Linked DNA regions of Homo sapiens: all the other regions are linked to region 1. The links are contacts of gene promoters, found by promoter capture Hi-C in blood cells and fetal thymus (Javierre and others, 2016). All regions are on one chromosome and are shown on one strand. Each heading gives the region's core, a stretch centred on a gene start or on the middle of the fragment in contact. The rest is flanking DNA. Distances are from core to core; before and after follow the strand shown.

Region 1 (2,646 bases), core at 78-2,577:
GAAAGTGCAGATGAAAGGACCCATCGTCAGCGTTTGCAGGTCGCGGTAACCCCAGGCCAGATTGACATGGGCTCCGCACCCGGGCCGGTGATTCTGCCTCTTAACCGCTCTTGCAGGAGAGGTGACGTTAATCTCACAAACGTTTTCCTACCCTTCTAGGAGAAATAACGATAAGCCCCAATCTTAAGGAGCAGAGAGTTAGTTCCGGGCGTTTGCCACGGCTCCCTCACTTCAATTTACACTCGCACACGCGGGTACGTGGGTGTTCGGGGTAGGGCACTGATCTGGGGAAGGTCTCCCCCCCGCGACCCAACTCATCTTTGCACATTTGCAGTCCTCCCTCGGTGCACTCCTGGCGGGGATCTGGCCAGTGCAGCGCACTGGGACCGAGGGCAGAGCCCGCGGAGTGAGGCCAGGAGAGACTTCAGGCCTCTAAGGACACAGCTGAGGCTAAGGCTGAGTTGAACGCAGCCCCTCCCGCGGCTCGTCCCCTCTCCAGTGTCTCTCCCGTAAGGTGCCGCTCCCAACAGCAATGGGTCGAGATGTAGAGGAAACACTCTGTACGTTATTTTTCCGCCCACCCTTTAGCGCCTGAGGAGACAGACAGTGTAGACTTTAGGGTACAATTGCTTCCCCTCTGTCGCGGCGGGGTGGGGAGCGTGGGAAGGGGACAGCCGCGCAAGGGGCCAGCCTGCTCCAGGTTTGAGCGAGAGAGGGAGAAGGAGGTCCACGGAGAGACAAGAATCTCCCTCCTCCCACGCCCAAAAGGAATAAGCTGCGGGGCACACCGCCCGCCTCCAGATCCCCCATTCACGTTGAGCCGGGGCGCGCTCGGGGCGGTCGCCTGCAGTATCAGTATCAGCATCAGCATCAGCATCAGCATCTGCATGAGCATCAGCTCAGCTCAGCTCAGCTCAGCATCAGCTCAGCTGTCCTGAGGCAGCCGGCGGCTGTGAAGGAGCTCCAGGCTGCCCCCATCCCCACGCCCTTCTCGGCTCAGGGCGTGCATGAACCTGCGGATGGCCGGCGGGCGAGTGGCGCCTTCGCGATCGCGGCCGCCCCTCTAGGCGGAGGCACCGGGGACCGAACCCGTGACTTCGAGCTCCACTGCGGACGAATCCCGGGACCGCGCGCCTCGCGGAAGAGCGGCCGCCGTGCAGCGCGGAGGGATACGCCTCGGCCGCACCTCCCCTCGCCGCGCCCCCGCCCCCGCCGCCCTCCCCGCCCGGCTCTGCTGCCGCCGCGGCGGCCGCTGCTGCTGCTGCTTCTGCCGCCGCTGCCGCCGCCGCTGCCTGGATATAGTGCGGCAAGAGCGGAGCTTGCAGTCACTTTGCGAGGAGGAGCGCGCGGGCTGCGGGCGGCTGGGGCACCGCGGGAGCGGCGGCGGCGGCTCTAGCAGAGGCGGCCGGGGCAGCGAAAGGTTCTCTCTCCAGGGCTGGACTTAATAACTTTGAAACTGTCCACCGGTGTCACGTCCTGAACATGAGCCTCCTCCTCTCCTTCTACCTGCTGGGGTTGCTTGTCAGTAGCGGGCAAGGTAGGAGTGTGGCGCTTTATTGCATTTACTTTCCCTCCCCCTTCCACCCGGCCAAGAGAGGCAAAGAGGGAGGCGCAGGAAGAATGAAATGAAAGAACTAAAGTTACAGTTATTGCTGTTGTTGTTATTATTATTTTCGTTCTTTCTCCTAGCTGTCCCTAAAATTGTATCTGTTGTGTGGAGACCCTTAAATAAGAGAAGGGAAAATACAGAATTGGAGAGGGGAATCGGTGAGCAGGATATCCAGGGAAACCGCTTCTTCTTCTTCTTTTTTTTTCCTCTGGGATTATGGCTTTCTCTTATTTTTATTATCAGAAATTGGATGAGTGTGTTAACAGTGAAATATCTGAGGTTGCGGAAGGAAAGGGCACGATGGTGTTTTACAGAAGCAGCAAAAACTATCAGTGTTAAACTCATTTGCAAAATATCTGCTGTGTGCAAGACGTTCGATTCTTGGAGACTCTTTTTTTTTTCCACCCCTTTCCCAAAACCCTAATTCCTGACTATGAAGTGAATGATGATGGCTTATTTCTGTTGGAAACTAAGAGAGGGGCCGTGGATATTGTGTGTAAGAAAGCAAATGGATAAAACTAGGGATGTGTTGCAGTCATTCATTTTGACCCCAACCCCTTATTAATACAGAAAGGTGGAATCATTTTATAACATTACATTGTAATTACACCTGTAGAGGATTTTTGGGGTTGTGGGAGAACTGGTGGAAGCTTTTATCTCTTAAAAAAAAAAAATGAATAGCCTGGTAGAATAACCTGAGAGGGAATTTGTGGAAGCTATCACTGTTTGTCTCTAGAGAGATAGATATGAATTTATCTGGCTGTTTAGATAGTAAACACTCACATGAAATATATTTACAATAAATGGAAGCATTTTCAACTGTCCAGACAAGTTTGGACGTTTAATTAGGGACACAAAATGCTAAAACATGCATTGGTGAAAGTCTTTAAAGGAAAAATAAAATAGCACTAATTTTGAGATATGTAATGATTGCAAAGAATGTTATGTTGTTAGTGTAGTGTGAAATTGGTTTTTTAAAATAATATAATAAATTACAAGACAAGTTAAAATATCCCCAAGATATTCAGTTCTAAGCA
Region 2 (2,646 bases), core at 42-2,541, 4.4 Mb after region 1:
GGCTAGGGGAGAGATAGCATTAGAAGAAATACCTAATGTAGGTGACGGGTTGATGGGTGCTGCAAACCACCATGGCACGTATATACCTATGTAACAAAACTGCACGTTCCGCACATGTACCCCAGAACTTTAAGTATAATAATAAAAAAGACATTTTTTTTCCTCTTTTCTTCTAGATGCTTACACTATCTCTCTTCTTGCCCCGACAACTAAGATTTTTAAGAGTGGCTGCATTCCCTGTAGTCTCTAGCTCACCTCCTATTCACTCCCCACCCCGCTGCAATCTGGTTTTCTCTCACTAAGCCACTAAGGGCTCTTTGTGATGTTACCAGTGAGCTACTTGCTGCTAAACCCAATGGACACTGATTTGTCTTTATCTAATTGATTATTGTGACACAAAAATATAACTAAGGAGGAAGAAGAGAGATTATCTGCCTTGAGCACTTTTTCCATAAGTGAAACATTTAAAGCTTTATTATTGAAGTAATATGTTCACATAACCAAGATAGTTGTCAACACCATGGTGCAAGGAAATAAAAGGAAAGAGTGTAAAAGCTAAATAGCAAGACCCAGAAAGAAGAGAGTGGAGGTATTACTCCTTTTTGAACAGCGAGTTCCCCATTACCTAATAATGGCCACGCAGGACCTGCTGCATTGATAGAGGAACTTGGAATCCTCTTCTTAAACACTGTGTCCCTTGGCTCTCAGGCACCTCTCAGCCCCACATCTTCCCCATGTACCACTTCCATTGCCTGGACCTCTGTTATCCCAGAAAATTTCTATTAGAAATCCTTCTAATTTCTACTCATGTTTCAAGTCTTCACTTCATATCTCCTCATCATAGAGGGCTTCCATGATTCTCCAGGATTAAATTCCCCTTGCTTTAGACAACTTTACAACCTCTTTTGCAATGCTCATCACAGTTGTTACCACTAATGAATTATTCAATAATATTGAATATCTGTCTTGGCTGACTGTGATCTTCAGGAAGACAAATGGAGATCATCTTTCATGTTCACTGATATAGCCCTAGGGCCTAATAGAGTGCCTGGCAAATTATAAATGCTTGATGATTGTTCCCTGCATTGTTGAATTGAATTGTGCTGAATTGAAATTTTCTTAAACCAATATTTCTATCACATTTTAGAAGGTGCATTTGCAATATAGGGAGTGTCTTGATCAGTTTGGGCTACTGTAACAAAATACCATAGACTAGTACTTAAACAACAAACATTCTTGAGGCTGGAAGTCTGAGATCAGGGTCCAATCATTGTGGGATTCTAACAAAGATCCCCTTCTGGGTTGCAGACTTCCAACTCCTCAATGTATCCTCCCATGGTGGAAAGAGAGCAAGAGCTCTCTGTCCTCTTCTTATAAGGGCACTAATCCCATTTGTGAGGGCTCCATCCTCATGACCTAATTACCTCCTGAAGACTCCACCTTCAAATACCATCTGTGTTAGGCCATTCTTGCTTTGCTATAAAGAAATGTCTGAGACTGGATACTTTATAAGGAACAGAGGCTTAATTGGCTTGGAGTTCTACACGCTGTACAGGAAGCATGGCCCTGGCATCTGCTGGGCTTCTGGGGAAGCCTCAGGGAGCTTTTACTCATGGCAGGAGGCAAAGCGGGAGCAGCCTTCTCACATGGCCAGAGCGGGAGCAAGAGTAACAGTGGGGAGTCGGGGAAGGTGCTGCACACTTGTAAACCACCAGATCTCACGTGAACTCAGTGCGAGGGCTCACTTATCATGAAGGGGATGGCCCAAGACATTCCTGAGGGATCCACCTCAATGATCCAAACACCTCTACCAGGCCCCACCTGGCCCCATGTAATTGGGAATTATATTTCAGTATGAGATTTGGGTGGGGACAAATATTCAAACTATATCACCATCACATTGTGGGTTAGATTTTGAAATACAAATGTTAGACACAAACATTCTATCCATAACAGGGAACATTGAAGGAAGGAGATTATTATGATGGTAAATGTCTACAAGTTCTGTCAATAATGAATAGTCTACTGAAGAGATCTTACAGAAGAAAAAAGCATTTAAAGTCTATCATATGTGTTTATTAAAGGGCAAAATATTTCTGTTAGATAGGAGGAATAAGCTTTAGTGATCTATTGCACAGAATGGTGATTATAAAAAACAATTAAAGAGTAGATTTTAAATGTTCCCACCACAAAAAAATAATGAGTATGTGAGGGGATGAATTTGTTAATTAGTTTGATTTAATCATTCCACAATGTAAACAAATATCAAAACATCACATCAAGACCCCATAAATATATAATATATACCAATTATTTATAATATTTGTTAATTAAAAATAAAGTTAAAAAACATTTTAAAGACTGCATAGAGACAATTGAAGAACTTTTTCTAAAGCCTATATATTAGATAATGGTATTATATCAATTTTAAATGTCTTGAGTGTGATCACTGCATTGTGGGTTTGAGGAGAATCTTCTTGTTCTTCTGAGATACTCATTTAAGTATGTAGGAGTGAAGTGTCATGAATAAGGAGTGAAGTGTCATGCAAAGCTAAAGCAACTAATTCTCAAATAATTGAATTTAAAACATGCGCATGTAAAATAGTAAATAAAGCCCATCGTACAGAAGAGATACTGGAAGAGATT
Region 3 (2,646 bases), core at 106-2,605, 4.4 Mb after region 1:
TGATGCCATTTAAAATGCCATATCTTTTCAGTCAACGCAATGCCTAGGTTATATTTTTCTCCTTTAAATCAAGTAGGCCACTTAAAGAGATAATCTGAATATGAATACATTCTACATTATAACACAGAAGAGATAGAGATTAAATGGATTTTTAAAATTTTAGAAACTTGGAATGAATTGATTCCATAATATATATATATCTCCTTCAGAGAATTATTTTACTTTAAAATCTCCAGTGAAAGATATTTGAAAGCCATCTTTGTTTTTATGTATATTTGAAATTTCTGATTGATTTTGCAATGTAATCTTTTAATAGTCTTAGAATATATTCCATTTTTTAAAAATCATTTCTTTTGTTTCTGAATTTAAGATGTATAATCATCTTATAATTGTATAAAATATTCTAAAAAGCATTGCAATCTAATATCTGATTTTACGGAATTAATTTTTTATTCTATACAAACAGAGTCTTAACTAATTTCAGGGAGAATGATCTGTTTGTAATTTAACCTTCAAATTAAAATCCAACTAGCTATAAGCTTTTAGATGCCTGCCTCATAGGGAATGAGATATTTATGAGGGAAGTCTAATGGTTAAGTCCTAAAGTCTTCCCTTGGAAGAAGGATAAAAGGTTTCTAATCATTGAATTTTTAAAAAATCATTAATGAAGGTATTAACTGGACTAAGGCATAAGGGGTAAAGAGTGGCCTTTAATGAGATTTGAAGACTTGTTCTAGAATATATGTTTTGCCAGAATAAAACATGTATCTTCTGATGGGATTTGGAAAGGTAGCTACCAAACCAGGGAAAAGAGTCCATTGGAGAGGGGAGAATGGAAACACTTCTACCTGGCGCATGTAGGGTACAGGTGGGTATGGAAGGCGCGATATGCGAATATAGGGTTTATCCCCAGGCGTCAAGGTACATGAGAGGTGGGAAACAGTGCTCAGCACAAGTGAGTGCCATATACTGTTTATTCTTAACAGGTCAAAAGACAACAAGAATGTATTAGGCAGCAAAGGGGTATTACATCACTCTGAGTAACACCATGTGTGTTAGAGCTGACTATTCTAGGTATATTTGTAGCCACCCTTGGTGTAAAAGATTTTTTTTAATTTATTTATTTAGGTATGGTTCATTGCCCATTTAAACTTAAAGCAAATGTAATTTTTGGCAATCTATTTCCCTAGTTTAAATTTGTCGCTGTTGATTTGGTGAGAGCCACTCACAACATAGATGAAAAGGCATATGGCCAGGCACAGAAAGACAGACACTGCATGATCTCACTGAAATGTAGAACTAAAAAAGTCGAACTTATGGAAGCAGAGATTAGAATGATGGTTACCCAGGGTTGAGGGCAGAGGGGAGAATCGGGCAAAGGATACAATATTTCAGTTACATAGAGGGAATACGTTCAAGAGATCTACTGTACAGCATGATGACTAGTTAAAAACAATGTACTGAATACTTGAAAATAGCAAAGAGAGTGGATTTTAAATTTTCTTACCACAAAAAAAGTTTACTATCAGTATGCTAATTAGCTTGATTTAGCCATTCTACAATGCATACATATTTCAAAACATCATATTTTATACCATAAATACATACAAATTTATTTTCAACTAAAAAAACTAAAATAGCATATGGGTTAACACAAATTATCATTTAAGGCGCTATTTAATTGAAGCAGTTATTTCATCTAGGCTTGAGGCATCACTGTATTCTAAAAATGAATGGTTTCAAGTTCTAGATCCACACACTGCTGGCTTAAATAAAAGTCTACATGGGGACCTTGAGTGTAACAGAAGAGCAGCAGACACAGAGGGCCTGAGGGTAAGATACAGATAGTGGGAGAGAATAAGCAGGCTGGGCCAAGGATTAGCTTTTATCCGTGACCTCCAATTACAACTGATTATCTGCGTTGTGACCACAGAAGAATGAAAATTATTTGCAGTTAGAATCAGGATCCATGAAGTTACACTTTATGTTCATATTTCTGAGTATAACATTAAATATATTTATTGCTCTTTTCTCCTACAAAAGGGGAAGTGACCCCCTTTTTAAGGACCTGCTTAAAAACATACAAAAATCCTGGGCAACTTTCTTGGTGTAGGAATTGCTTTATAGTAGTCGAACAGAAGTGATTATTCCATTGGTAATTCTGCACCCAGACAAGCTTGATATATCTATTGAGGACATATGTAAAGTAAAAAAAAAAAAAAAGTTCTCATATAGTCCTCAAAAATGCTAATTGAAATAAATTTGTACTTTCCTTGGGCTGGATTTATATTAGAACATTTAATTTCAATTAAACAGACAACCTTTAAGTCATGAGATAGCTGAATAGAACCCTCCAGCAATTATTCCCAAACAGGAGCACCAAATTGAAAAACTACTCAAGCAAAAAAGCACCTTCATAAAAGCCAAAATCAGGTGAACGATCACAGTACCTGATTCTGACATCATATCAAGGAAAGAGGCACCGATGGGGTTAGGAAAGGCAGGCCTGCCCTGTATACAGCACTTCTCCCTTACCCTCCAGCAGCAGCAAGTGGAGGGAGAATCTGTGTGCCTGGGGGAGGGAGAACAGAGTGACTGTGGAACTTTGCATTGGAACTCAGGGCTGCCTTGTCACAACGGAACACA
Region 4 (2,646 bases), core at 62-2,561, 4.4 Mb after region 1:
AACCACCATTGGACGCAGCAATTCCATTACTGGGTTTATACCCAGAAGCATATACATCATTCTACCATAAAGACACATACATGTGAATGTTCACTGCTGCACTATTCACAATAGCAAAGATGTGGAATCAACCTAAATGCCCAACCACAACAGTTTGGATAAAGAAAATGTGGTACATATACACCACAGAATACTATGCAGCCGTAAAAAAGAATGAGTTAATGTCTTTTGTGTGAACACTGAAGGAGCTGGAGGCTATTATCCTAGGCAAACTAATGCAGAAACAGGAAACCAAATACTCCATGTTCTCACTTGTAAGTGGGAGCTAAATGATGAGAACTCATGAACACAAAGAAGGGAATAACAGACACCGGGGTCTACTTGGGGATGGAGGGCGGGAGAAGGGAGAGGAGCAGAAAAGAAGACTACTGGGCACTGGGCTTAGTACCCGGGTGATGAAATCATCCGCACAACAAACCCTTGTGACATGAGTTTACCTATGTAACAAACCTTCAGATGTACCCCAAAACCTAAACTAAAAGTTATTTAAAAAATATTGTTCCACTCCCTCACAGCCTGTATGATTTTCACTGACAGGTTTGTTAGGCAAATTGGAGCTCCTTTATACGTTATTTGCTTCTCTGCTTTCAGGATTCTCTCTGTCCTTGACATTTGAAAGTTTGATCGTAATATGACTTTTGGTAGTCTTATTTAGGTCAGACACCTATTTGGTGTTCTCTGACCTTCCTGTACTTAGATATTTTCCTCTTTATTTAGTTTTGGAAGGTTTTCTGTTATTGTGTATTTAAATAAGCTTTCCACTCTTTCCTCTTGCTCAACTCCCTCTTGAACACCAATAATTCTTGGGTTTAGTCTTTCAAGTTAAATTTCTATTTCTTTTTGGTGATTATTTCTTTATATCCTTTTTCTTTTTTCTCGTCTGTGTATTTTCAAATAGCCTATCTTTGAACTCACTGATTCTTTCCTCTGCTTAAGCCATTCTGCTGCTTCTAATGAATTTTTGATTCAGCAAATGTATTTCCCAGTTCCAAGATTTCTGTCTGTTTGTTTTTATTAGTTCAATCTCATTATTAAATCTCTCTGGTAAATTTCTGAATTGTTTTTCTGTGTTATCCTGGAGATTACTGAGTTTCCCTAAAACTGCTATTTTGAATTCTTGGTCAGAGTGATCACATATCAGCATCTAGTTAGAGTCAGTTGCTGGATCCTGGCTTTGTTCCTTTGGAGAAATGATGGTTCCCTATTTGCTATTGTTTCTTGTGGATATATGTCTATGCCTTTGCATTGAAGGATTTATTATTTATTCTAGTCTTTTTGTCTAAGTTGTTCGGGTTTTTATTGGATATGTTTGCTTAGAGATGCTTTGTAATTTCTCTGTTGATTTTCTTTTTCCTCTGCTTGGTCACTGCTTCTTTTCAGTACTAGATGGTGTCTTACACCCAAGTCTCCCTTGATTCTAGGAAACAATCAGAGTGCTGCCATCTCAAATGAGAGAGGTCACAAAGGAGATACTTAATAGTATTAGAATGGTGCCTGTGCCTAAAGATTCACGCCCAGTGACCTGTGGAACAAACCTTTTACAGTTTGATGCTGCTGAACAGCCACTCTGATTTGCCATCTCTTTGACCAAGTTGCAGAGCAGAGCTTCCTGGGCTAAGAACAGTAGTCCAGCCTCTCCTCTTTGTCTCTAACTGTCTTCCAGGATATTTCTCCCTTTAGGTACTCCCAATGCTTCCTGTGGGTTGAGGCAGGGACAGTTACCCTGCCAAAGAACCTGGGATTATGGAGAAGCTTGTTATCACCTTGATCGCACTTTTTCCAGTATAGAAACTGTGAGTTGGGAAAATTTTCCACATGCTTGGTGTTGGGCAGATGGGAGGATGGATGTCATGAATATGAAGGTCCAATTCTCTTACTGTTTTCTTAGAGTTTTTTCACTTCTCTGTGGCCCCAGGAACATCTCAGCCTCATATTTGAGTTCTGAGATATTGCTGGTGATAATCTTCGTACTGCATATTTGTTTTTGGTATTCTATGGGGAAAAGTAAGGCCAGTTTGCTTCTATGTTGCCATTTTGGAACCAGAAGTCTCCTCCAAAGATTGTTTTTTTCATCAAAATTAGCTCATATGATGGTTCTGCTGTGTCTTAACCTGTGATCCCTAAAAAAAGATCCTGAGACAAAGTCTTAGGTGGAGCACTCTATTTGGGAAGTGATTATCCTAGAGAGCAGGAATGAAAGAAAGTAGAACAAGGTACGAGAAAAATTCAATATGAGAATGATTTTTCAAATTGGTGATTGGTTTTTGATCTCCTGGAATCTTTGAAGGACTCTTATGGAATATATGTCAAAACTATCTGCCTGGGGAAAGAGAGAAGAAGCCATTTATCAATTGGTTTTTATCCTTCACAGGGCATTATCTCCTCCAGTGCTCAGATTGCACACTCATGAGAGGTGAGCAAGCTTCCAAGAACATCCAATGCCGATGCTCCAGAAAAGCCTTTAACAAAAGTCAGAGGTCCATGGTAAGGTACCAGGTGAAAACTCCATCAGATGATATCTGTACAGAGCTAGTCAAATCCTGCATAGACCTGGTTGTCACAGAAGTATATGGAATAAAAGGTGGT
Region 5 (2,646 bases), core at 89-2,588, 4.0 Mb after region 1:
CGTAATCTTTCCTCAGAAATCGAGTTTATATTTTCCATTTATCCCTGCATTAACTAAGGTTTTAAAGGTAATGAATTCAGAATTTATTTGAATAACATAGTTTCAATAGAAGCACTAACAGCAGAAGCCCAGGGGCTTACAGACAACATAACCAGGTTGAACATTTCTCCTATCTTTTCTTCCGATTTATCACAAAATATTTACATATAATTAGTTTGTTGTATGTACATTTAATTATTGTGTCATGTGTTTTTACAGGTAATTTATTTATCTATGCATTAGTTTGCTCGGGCTTCCATGACAAAATATTGCAGACTGGGTGGCTTAACCAACAGGAATTTATAATTCTAGAGGCTGGAAGTCTGAGATGAAGGTGTTGGAAGGGCTGGTTTCTGCTGAGTCCCTCTCCTTGGTTTGCGGATGACTGTGCCGTTGCTGCCTCTTCTCATGGTTTTTCCTCTGTGCACACACACTTCTGATGTCTCTGTGTGTGTCCAAATCTCTTCTTGGGAGAACACCAGTCAGTTTGGTTTAGGGCCCTCCCTAGTAATCTCATTTTAACATAATTATCTCTTTAAAGGCCCTGCCTCTAAATACTGGCACATTCTCAGGTACTGGGGGATTATGGCTTCAACATATGAATTTTCAGGGGACACAATTTAGCCCATCACAGTCTGTATAATTGAAAAGCTATAGCACAGAATATTGAATTGCTATTTGTGTAAAGAAAAAAGGTCCCACTGTAGACATGGAAACAGTTCAAACAAAGGGGGACAGGAGTAGATAGGAGTGGATTAAAAGAAGATATGTTATTTTCTCATGGCAGAGAATATGTTGACTGCCTTAGAAACATAAACAAAATATGAGAAATATTTTATTCTAATACAACAATGAGCAAAACTGTACTTAAGCCAGACGGCTGGAATTAGGGATTCAGGAAATAAGCATTGCAATTATATGTCAATCAAGTGATAAACTTAAAACCCTGCAGTGTCAGTTAAGAAGAAAGATTATTAGATTTATCAAAACACCACAGTGGAATACAGGAAATATAGCCCAAATGACAAAGAGAATATTTGCAGGAACTAAGAATAATCATTTTAAAGGAAAATAGGTTGAAATTAAGTCAAGAATGTTGAACAATGATCATAATAAAAACAACTCTGAAAGCCTGTTAGAAACCTATTGCCTCTGGCTCCTTAGAATATTTAAGAATTTGATGTCCAGAAACAGTCATGGCCCTTTCAGGAATATAATGTCGGTTTATAATGAAATTTTCAAAAATTCATAAAAGATTCACAAGTCTAAAAAGAACAATGCAGATCCTCAGAGATTCTTACATTTAAATAAATGTAGAACATTTATGTATACTGCAGGACAGAACTTGACATATTATAAAGAATTTTCAAAGAGCAAATAATTAGTTTTGTCTTGAAAAATGTAAGATTTTAAAATGGTATGGTATCTTTAAAAATCTGATAGTTCACCTATAAAAAAATGTTGCTAGAAAAGATTGGTATCAGGGTGGGCACAACTTATAGGCAGGAGAATATTTTCTTATTTCTGGAAAAGAATCAGCATAGAAGGTGCTTTACATATTTCTTTAAATTCAAGATAAATGATACCAAATGTGGAACAGATGCTATTTTGGAGACAGGAATACATATGATATTAACAAAGAGAAATTAAACAGCAAAAGCAATTCATAAATAGTGACACATAAAGATGGGTACTACATTGCAAAATTCAAAGGAGTATGACGTGGAGAAATGAGAACTATAAATTGTCAGCCTCACAGGATTTGAATAGTCTTTTACATATATCAGAAAGAGAATTCAAGTTTTTATGTCATAAAATTCAGGGAACAGTTAGTTTGTTAACTCAGTGGCTTGATTGGGTATAGATACAGTCTTGGAAAATAACTCTCATGACAGTGCAGATTGAGGAGATGCTGGCAGCCAGAAACTATGTTATAGCACAGTGAAGAGTTTATGAGCATCTAAATAGAAAATTGGGCAGAGCCAATGGAGTGGAAGAGATGGATATATCTGACCCGCTAGAGTAGTGAGTGTCATGGTTATGAATGACACTCCAAGATGTGGAACATGGAAGAATTGCAGACAATTTTGTGATTTCTAACTGAGATGCTAAGCAGATGTTGATGCTATTAATCTAGGAAAGCAGGAAATAAATACAAAGTAAAGGGCAAGTCAGATTGCAAGACTGAAGAGAGGAGAAGCAGGAAAAAATATAATATGAAAATACAATATGAGTAAGGATTTGCACATAGTGAGCCTAAAGTTCTAGTTCAAATTGAGATAGAAAAGTCTAGGAGCTAATGAGAAAATGAGTATACTCATTATTACCATTTCCTTTCACACTTCTGATAGGATTATGCTTATCATATACTGTACATTATTTTTCTGATCCTGTTGGCCTTGCTCGTTGATAATCCTCTCATCTATATACCTCATCTCTCGCTTCTCATCTTCAGATAGCAAAAAATAAGTACAAAATACATACACACTTTTAGGTGAGGAAGTGTTTGTCAAATTAAATTAAAGAATTCGGCTTTCACTTTCTCATTGAAAAATACACTTCTATAAATGGAATGGCTTTAAGTATTTATTCATAGCTATGCATTCA
Region 6 (2,646 bases), core at 102-2,601, 3.5 Mb after region 1:
ATGAATATCCATTCCCCTCCCTACCTCAGTAACATAACATAGTATAAGAAATTTATATCCAGCAACTCTACCTTCAGATATCACTTCAAATTGTATTACTTGTACTACCTCGTGGTTACTCTGGAAATGCAATAACTTCAGGAATGACATGTGAACTGTAATGTGGTTCAGAATACTTTCAAAGTGTTTCAGCAGTGTTACAAGTTCTAGACCCCAGCTTCTAGCAGGATATTGTAGAAGAAAACTTGCGTATTTTACCTATGTATGTTTATAGATATTTTCTCAGTTCTTTGCTCACTCTAATTTCTTAAGGTTCTTGTCATCTCTCATGTGGTATTATCATCTTTTTGCCTTTACTTAAACACATGGAAAGAAAGGATTTTGTACACCTTATTTTTAAGGCACTTGTACCACAGTGCATTGTGAAGAAAAACTATTTATGCCATACTCTAATACTGACTGGTTGTTAAATAAATTGTAAGCAAGTAAGTTTTTTTTCCAAGCAGTAAGGTCATCAAAATATTTTACATATTAGCACACATCTTTGAATTTTAACAAACATATATATTTAGATCTCTTGTCAGAACACTCTGAAAACTCCACTAACCCATTATACATGTAAAATTTAGGGCATGTGAAGAACTGAGTAGAATTCAACTAAAATAAATGGTTCACAAAGCAGTCACCAGCTTGCTTCAGCTGATTTAACAAATAGAGCAATCTGATTTATGGCTCAGTTATTTGTTGGCTGTTATTTTGAGAGAAGAGGAGAAAGAAAGAGAATCGCTTGCAGTAGTTTTGACAGCACTGTCTCCAGATATATAGAAATTATCCCCATGGGATAGCCTACTCTTCAGTAGAAACTATTGTGAGTACTCTAATTTTACAGGTAGAAATCTTTCTACTGACAAAAGTTAAATATTGTTCTGTAAACTCTTACAAAATCATCACATGGTCAATAACTAGATTTTTAAGTCTGTAACTTCCATTTTAAACATATATAATTATTTAGATTTCAGTGTTCTATAAATCCTAATGAGAGATGAAGCCAGCTGGACTTCTGGGTTGAGTGGGGACTTGGAGAACTTTTCTATGTCTAGCTAAAGGATTGTAAATGCACCAATCAGCACTCTGTAAAATGGACCAATCAGTAGGATGTGGGTGGGGACAAATAAAGGAATAAAAGCTGGCCACCCCAGGCAGCAGCAGCAACCCATTCAGGTCCCCTTACACGCTGTGGAAGCTTTATTATTTCACACTAAGAGGGGTCAAAATACAACAGATTCTTAATACTAAAACACAACATGTTGCTATCTTTTTTCCTTGGATATGTGATTGTGAATCACTAAGGGGCCTTAACAACTCTAGAAATATGAACATATAGAAAAGTAATGCATAGTTTGAAGGACAATCCAGTACCTTTGAAAACACCAACTACATAGCTTGAGGAAGATTTAAAACAAGCTTGTCCAACCCACGACCCGCAGACCACATGTGGGCTCATGAGGGCTTTGAATGCAGCCCAACACAAATTAGTAAACTTTCTTAAAACATTATGAAAATAGTTTGCATTTTTCTTTTGCTTATCAGCTATTATTAGTGTTAGTGTATTTTATGTGTAGCCCAAGACAATTCTTCTTCTTCCAATGTGGCCCAGGGAAGCCAAAAGATTGGACACCCCTGAAAAGAATGAAGGCTGTAAGAAGACTGCCATTGATGGAAGGCAGACTATCTTACTTAGTAAGAATTGAGGATGTTTGTAAGTGAGGACTGGTAAGGCTACAGGTGACATTTATTTCTTCGTGGTGACTGTACCACCAAGTCCTAATTGAAATGTGGCCATCAGACTGCCCTGCCAAGGAGAACCTGGTAAATCATTATCAGAAAATTATTTCTTTTACTTATGAATGTCTTTAGGCACAGTTGTCTTGGGAGAAAATTAACCTACTGTAAATGGTTTTCTAGAAAACCTTAGAATGTTTCTCATTTAATAAAAAACTGAAATTCAAACATGTGTCTTTGTTACATGCATCAACTACGTGCTATGTTTCTAGAAGAAGCAGTATGGTGACACCTCCTGCACTATTATTCTCTACAGTTTAGCATTTGAGCTAATATTGGACAGTTGAACCTACAGGTTAATCATTCATAAATTTAACAGATCCTTTGTAATTTAAAGTGAAAACTTTGAGTATCTCATAAAGCATACATTACTAACATAATAATTAAACACTATTTACCTCTCTTTTAAATATATAACAATAGCTATTAAATTGCCATATGCATCATAGTCACCTGGGAGAAGTATTAAAATATGGATTGCTGAGCTCCATTGCCAATGCTTCTGATTAATTCAGTAAAAGGGGGTCCCGATAATGTTTTATTTTTAGAAACTCCCAGGTTATGCTGGTGCTACTGGTTGGGGCACAACAAACACTTTGAGAAGGAACCGCTGCTTCATGGCAAACGATTGTATTGGGAGACATTAGAAATTCTGGTTTCTAGAGACATGTTGTTATAAAAATAATGGAGAATACATTGCATTGTATATAAGAAGTGTATTTTATTATCCAAAGCTCTTTAAAATGTCACTGTTGTCAGGATGTAATAACAACATTGAGCTAATGGCTCATAAATAATTACAAA
Region 7 (2,646 bases), core at 63-2,562, 3.2 Mb before region 1:
CAGAAACCTTATCTTTAACAAATCTCTACACTATTCATACTTAGCACAATTTCCAATCATTGAAGACATTTTAGTTTTACCTTACAATCAGTACAAAGCAGCTGTGTTAAATTCATTCCATAAGATCAAAACTATACTGTGTCCTTACCCTCAATATTTAGCTCAAAACAAATGTGGCAGAAGGAGAGTGTTTCTTTGTCTGTTCCCAGTTTACAAACACTGCAAATGTTGTCATCATTCAAATCAATGTTTACAAACTGCTCCTCTTCGTTCATAGTGCCCCTATTAAGAAACAGAAAAGGAAAGTTACACAATTTCATGAACCTGCCTTTGGGGTAGTTCCCTTTACTGGGAACTTCTAGGAAATAAGGATGCTGTTCAGCTCATTTAAAGCAAAAGCTCCATCAAACAAGCATCGCCATACTTGCACTCCAACATTGCACTTTTCCTGTGGAAAGACACAAAGCTAGTAAAACTTAAAGCCAGGCCATAGGTGACACTATGTCCGTGTCTTTTTTGTCCTATAGTTGATTGGGTTAGTGGCACCTGAAGGAAAGAGATTTGCCGGCATTCTAGTCCTCCTCCTTCGTCCCCCAACCTCGAATAATCAGAGGGCTTAGCAGCGAGGCCTTTTCAGCTACCAGGTTCTGTCAACCTAGTTAACGCTGTGAGAAACAGGAAAAACGACCTGCACGGGACACTGCTTTGCTAACTTCATTGGGGGAACCTCAGATGCGCCTCGCGAACTCGGAGTTGCGAAGCTTCGCATCGAACGGAGATCGGCGGCAGCAAAATGCACGTGGGTACCGAATACCCGGGGAGGGCGTCCCGCCGTGTCCGGGGCAACTACACCGAAGGCCGAGCGGCGGCTTCACGGTACCGGCCGGGCACCGCCGGAGGGGCCCAAGCCGGAGCTGGGAGAGCCGCGGCATCCTGGAGCCCGGCGGGCGGGAGAGCCTCGTCCCATCGCTCCGGGATTCCTCCCAGAGGGAAGAAAGCGTCCGAGGGCCACGGCGGCCGGTCCGCCCAGCCTCAGCGTCTCGGGGAGCCGGGTCCTGGCCCGGCCTTCGGCGTTGGGGGCGCGCGGCCGCCCCCAGGGAGTCGCGGACCCAAGTCCGTCTTTCCGTCGGTCTGTCCGTCGGGGCGCCTGGCGCGCAGCAGCGCGAGGGGCCACGGGGCTCGGAACTCGAAGGAGGCGGAACGATGGGACTGGGGGTCGGGGCTCAGGTGGGATGGGAGCAGGGCTGCGGGGTCTTTACCGTCCGGCTCCGCGGGCCACCACCGCCGTTCCGTGCGGCTCGGGTTCCTCCACTATTGTTTCCGGCCGCAGCAGAGGCGGCCGCCGCGCGCCTGGCCCCGCCCTCTCCCGCCGGCTCCATCCCGTAAAGGCTGCGGGGAGGGTGGCGCGGCCGCGGGCACACCTGCGCGCTCGCCGGGCTGCTGTGGGTCCGCCCCTCCGCTCCTGCACCGACGCCGCACCTTCGCCTCGAGTTCTCCTGTGATCCCGTGTTTCCTGGCCGGAGTTTCTTACCGTTCTCTGGAACGTAGCTCCTCACACACCCCTCCTCGAGGTGCGTAGATAGACGAATCCGTTCCACCTCTCCCTTCAGCCTAGTGCAAACTACTGCCCCGGGGCGGGGGCCGCAGGCGGCGGGGGTAGGAAAGCCGCGGGTGGATGGCAGAACGGGAGAGGTGCGTGGGTGGCACTTTGACTTCAGGAGAAAGAAGCAGAATACTGTCACTGAACTTATAGTTAAGTGCCAGTTGAAGTATCTAACGAAGGAAAAGTTCATATTCAGGTGTCATGATAGAGGCATAATTTCAAATACAGAATCTTTTCAAATACATTATTTGTTGTGGGGCGCCCCTGCCCCCAATATGGTACATCCCTCAACGCCCACGGGAAAAATCCCGAAGCCCCACCTCTTATTTTTAGGTCCTGCTTGGTTCTCAAATTCTTTGCTTGACTTTTGTTTAAGCTATTCTGTTTTTTTTAGGGTATGGTTCTTGCAGTACTTTCACTTACATTTTCCATTGTAGTCCTCACAGTAACCTACAGAGGAGAAACAGGAACTGTTCTCTCATGTTGCAGCCTACGAGTAATTGACCCAGGTTATCACAGTTGGTTAGAAAAAGGCTGGGACTTGAACCGAAGGCTACTGACCTAAGATCAATGTTATTTTCTACAGCATCATATGTATGTGTTCTGGTTGCACTCACATAGAAAGAGGGCTAGCCTGTCAATCTACATGTAGGCATTCTTGAACTGATGGTTAGGAATGGACTGTCTAGATCTTGGAAACTTCTGGGCCAAATTAGCACTCCAGTTATGGCATTTGTGCCTCGCAGGAGCGATCTGTGTCCTTGCCACCTAAATTGTAGTAGATGAACAAACAACATTGACATTACTTGGTTTCCTGTTAGAAATGTAGAATCTCAGGCCCCACTCGAGATTTCCTAAATCAATACTTGCACTTTAACAAGACCGCCAGGAGATTCCTATGTTCATCGAAGTTTGAGATGCACTAATTGAAATGAAAAGCCTGTGCTTTTTCTCTTCGAATTTCTCATTCTAGGTAACTACGACTAAGATACCTTGCATGTTGGATTCTACCCATCTTTTCAATAAAAAGCATTCTTTTAAAA

The links. Contacts are between HindIII fragments. The CHiCAGO score rates a contact against its expected background, and 5 or more counts as called.
Region 2: a contact is called between a fragment that was not itself captured here and the fragment with the promoter of NCAM2 in region 1, in 3 of 17 cell types (total B cells, endothelial precursors and naive B cells). The highest score is 6.9, in total B cells.
Region 3: a contact is called between a fragment that was not itself captured here and the fragment with the promoter of NCAM2 in region 1, in 2 of 17 cell types (M0 macrophages and naive B cells). The highest score is 7.5, in M0 macrophages.
Region 4: a fragment that was not itself captured here is called in contact with the fragment with the promoter of NCAM2 in region 1 in 8 of 17 cell types (endothelial precursors, total B cells, M2 macrophages and 5 more); the score reaches 23.2 in endothelial precursors.
Region 5: a fragment that was not itself captured here is called in contact with the fragment with the promoter of NCAM2 in region 1 in 2 of 17 cell types (naive B cells and total B cells); the score reaches 11.5 in naive B cells.
Region 6: a fragment that was not itself captured here is called in contact with the fragment with the promoter of NCAM2 in region 1 in 4 of 17 cell types (total B cells, naive B cells, endothelial precursors and 1 more); the score reaches 22.0 in total B cells.
Region 7: a contact is called between the fragment with the promoter of C21orf91 here and the fragment with the promoter of NCAM2 in region 1, in 2 of 17 cell types (total B cells and M0 macrophages). The highest score is 5.3, in total B cells.

Annotation. Positions count from the first base shown.
Region 1 is chr21:20,997,082-20,999,727 of GRCh38, forward strand. NCAM2 (neural cell adhesion molecule 2) reads left to right here and starts at 1,328. Exons shown (of 18, transcript NM_004540.5): 1 at 1,328-1,537. The coding sequence starts at 1,483. The HindIII fragment of the contact is 4,236 bases long and covers 1-2,257 here.
Region 2 is chr21:25,413,349-25,415,994 of GRCh38, forward strand. The region is part of intron 4 of LINC00158 (long intergenic non-protein coding RNA 158); the gene reads right to left. Among named protein-coding and RNA genes, the nearest start is that of LINC00158, 17 kb to the right of the region's middle. The HindIII fragment of the contact is 1,647 bases long and covers 469-2,115 here.
Region 3 is chr21:25,396,767-25,399,412 of GRCh38, forward strand. All of the region lies in intron 4 of LINC00158 (long intergenic non-protein coding RNA 158), which reads right to left. Among named protein-coding and RNA genes, the nearest start is that of LINC00158, 34 kb to the right of the region's middle. The HindIII fragment of the contact is 1,637 bases long and covers 538-2,174 here.
Region 4 is chr21:25,379,077-25,381,722 of GRCh38, forward strand. No RefSeq gene overlaps it. Among named protein-coding and RNA genes, the nearest start is that of LINC00158, 51 kb to the right of the region's middle. The HindIII fragment of the contact is 998 bases long and covers 813-1,810 here.
Region 5 is chr21:25,043,323-25,045,968 of GRCh38, forward strand. All of the region lies in intron 3 of LINC01692 (long intergenic non-protein coding RNA 1692), which reads left to right. Among named protein-coding and RNA genes, the nearest start is that of LINC01692, 200 kb to the left of the region's middle. The HindIII fragment of the contact is 4,295 bases long and covers 1-2,646 here.
Region 6 is chr21:24,508,520-24,511,165 of GRCh38, forward strand. All of the region lies in intron 1 of LINC01684 (long intergenic non-protein coding RNA 1684), which reads left to right. Among named protein-coding and RNA genes, the nearest start is that of LINC01684, 81 kb to the left of the region's middle. The HindIII fragment of the contact is 221 bases long and covers 1,242-1,462 here.
Region 7 is chr21:17,818,044-17,820,689 of GRCh38, forward strand. C21orf91 (chromosome 21 open reading frame 91) reads right to left here and starts at 1,313. Exons shown (of 5, transcript NM_001100420.2): 1 at 1,260-1,313; 2 at 149-282. The coding sequence starts at 275. The region is part of intron 2 of LOC124900465 (a long non-coding RNA gene); the gene reads left to right. RefSeq lists a silencer at 928-1,707 and an enhancer at 1,958-2,007. The HindIII fragment of the contact is 2,618 bases long and covers 760-2,646 here.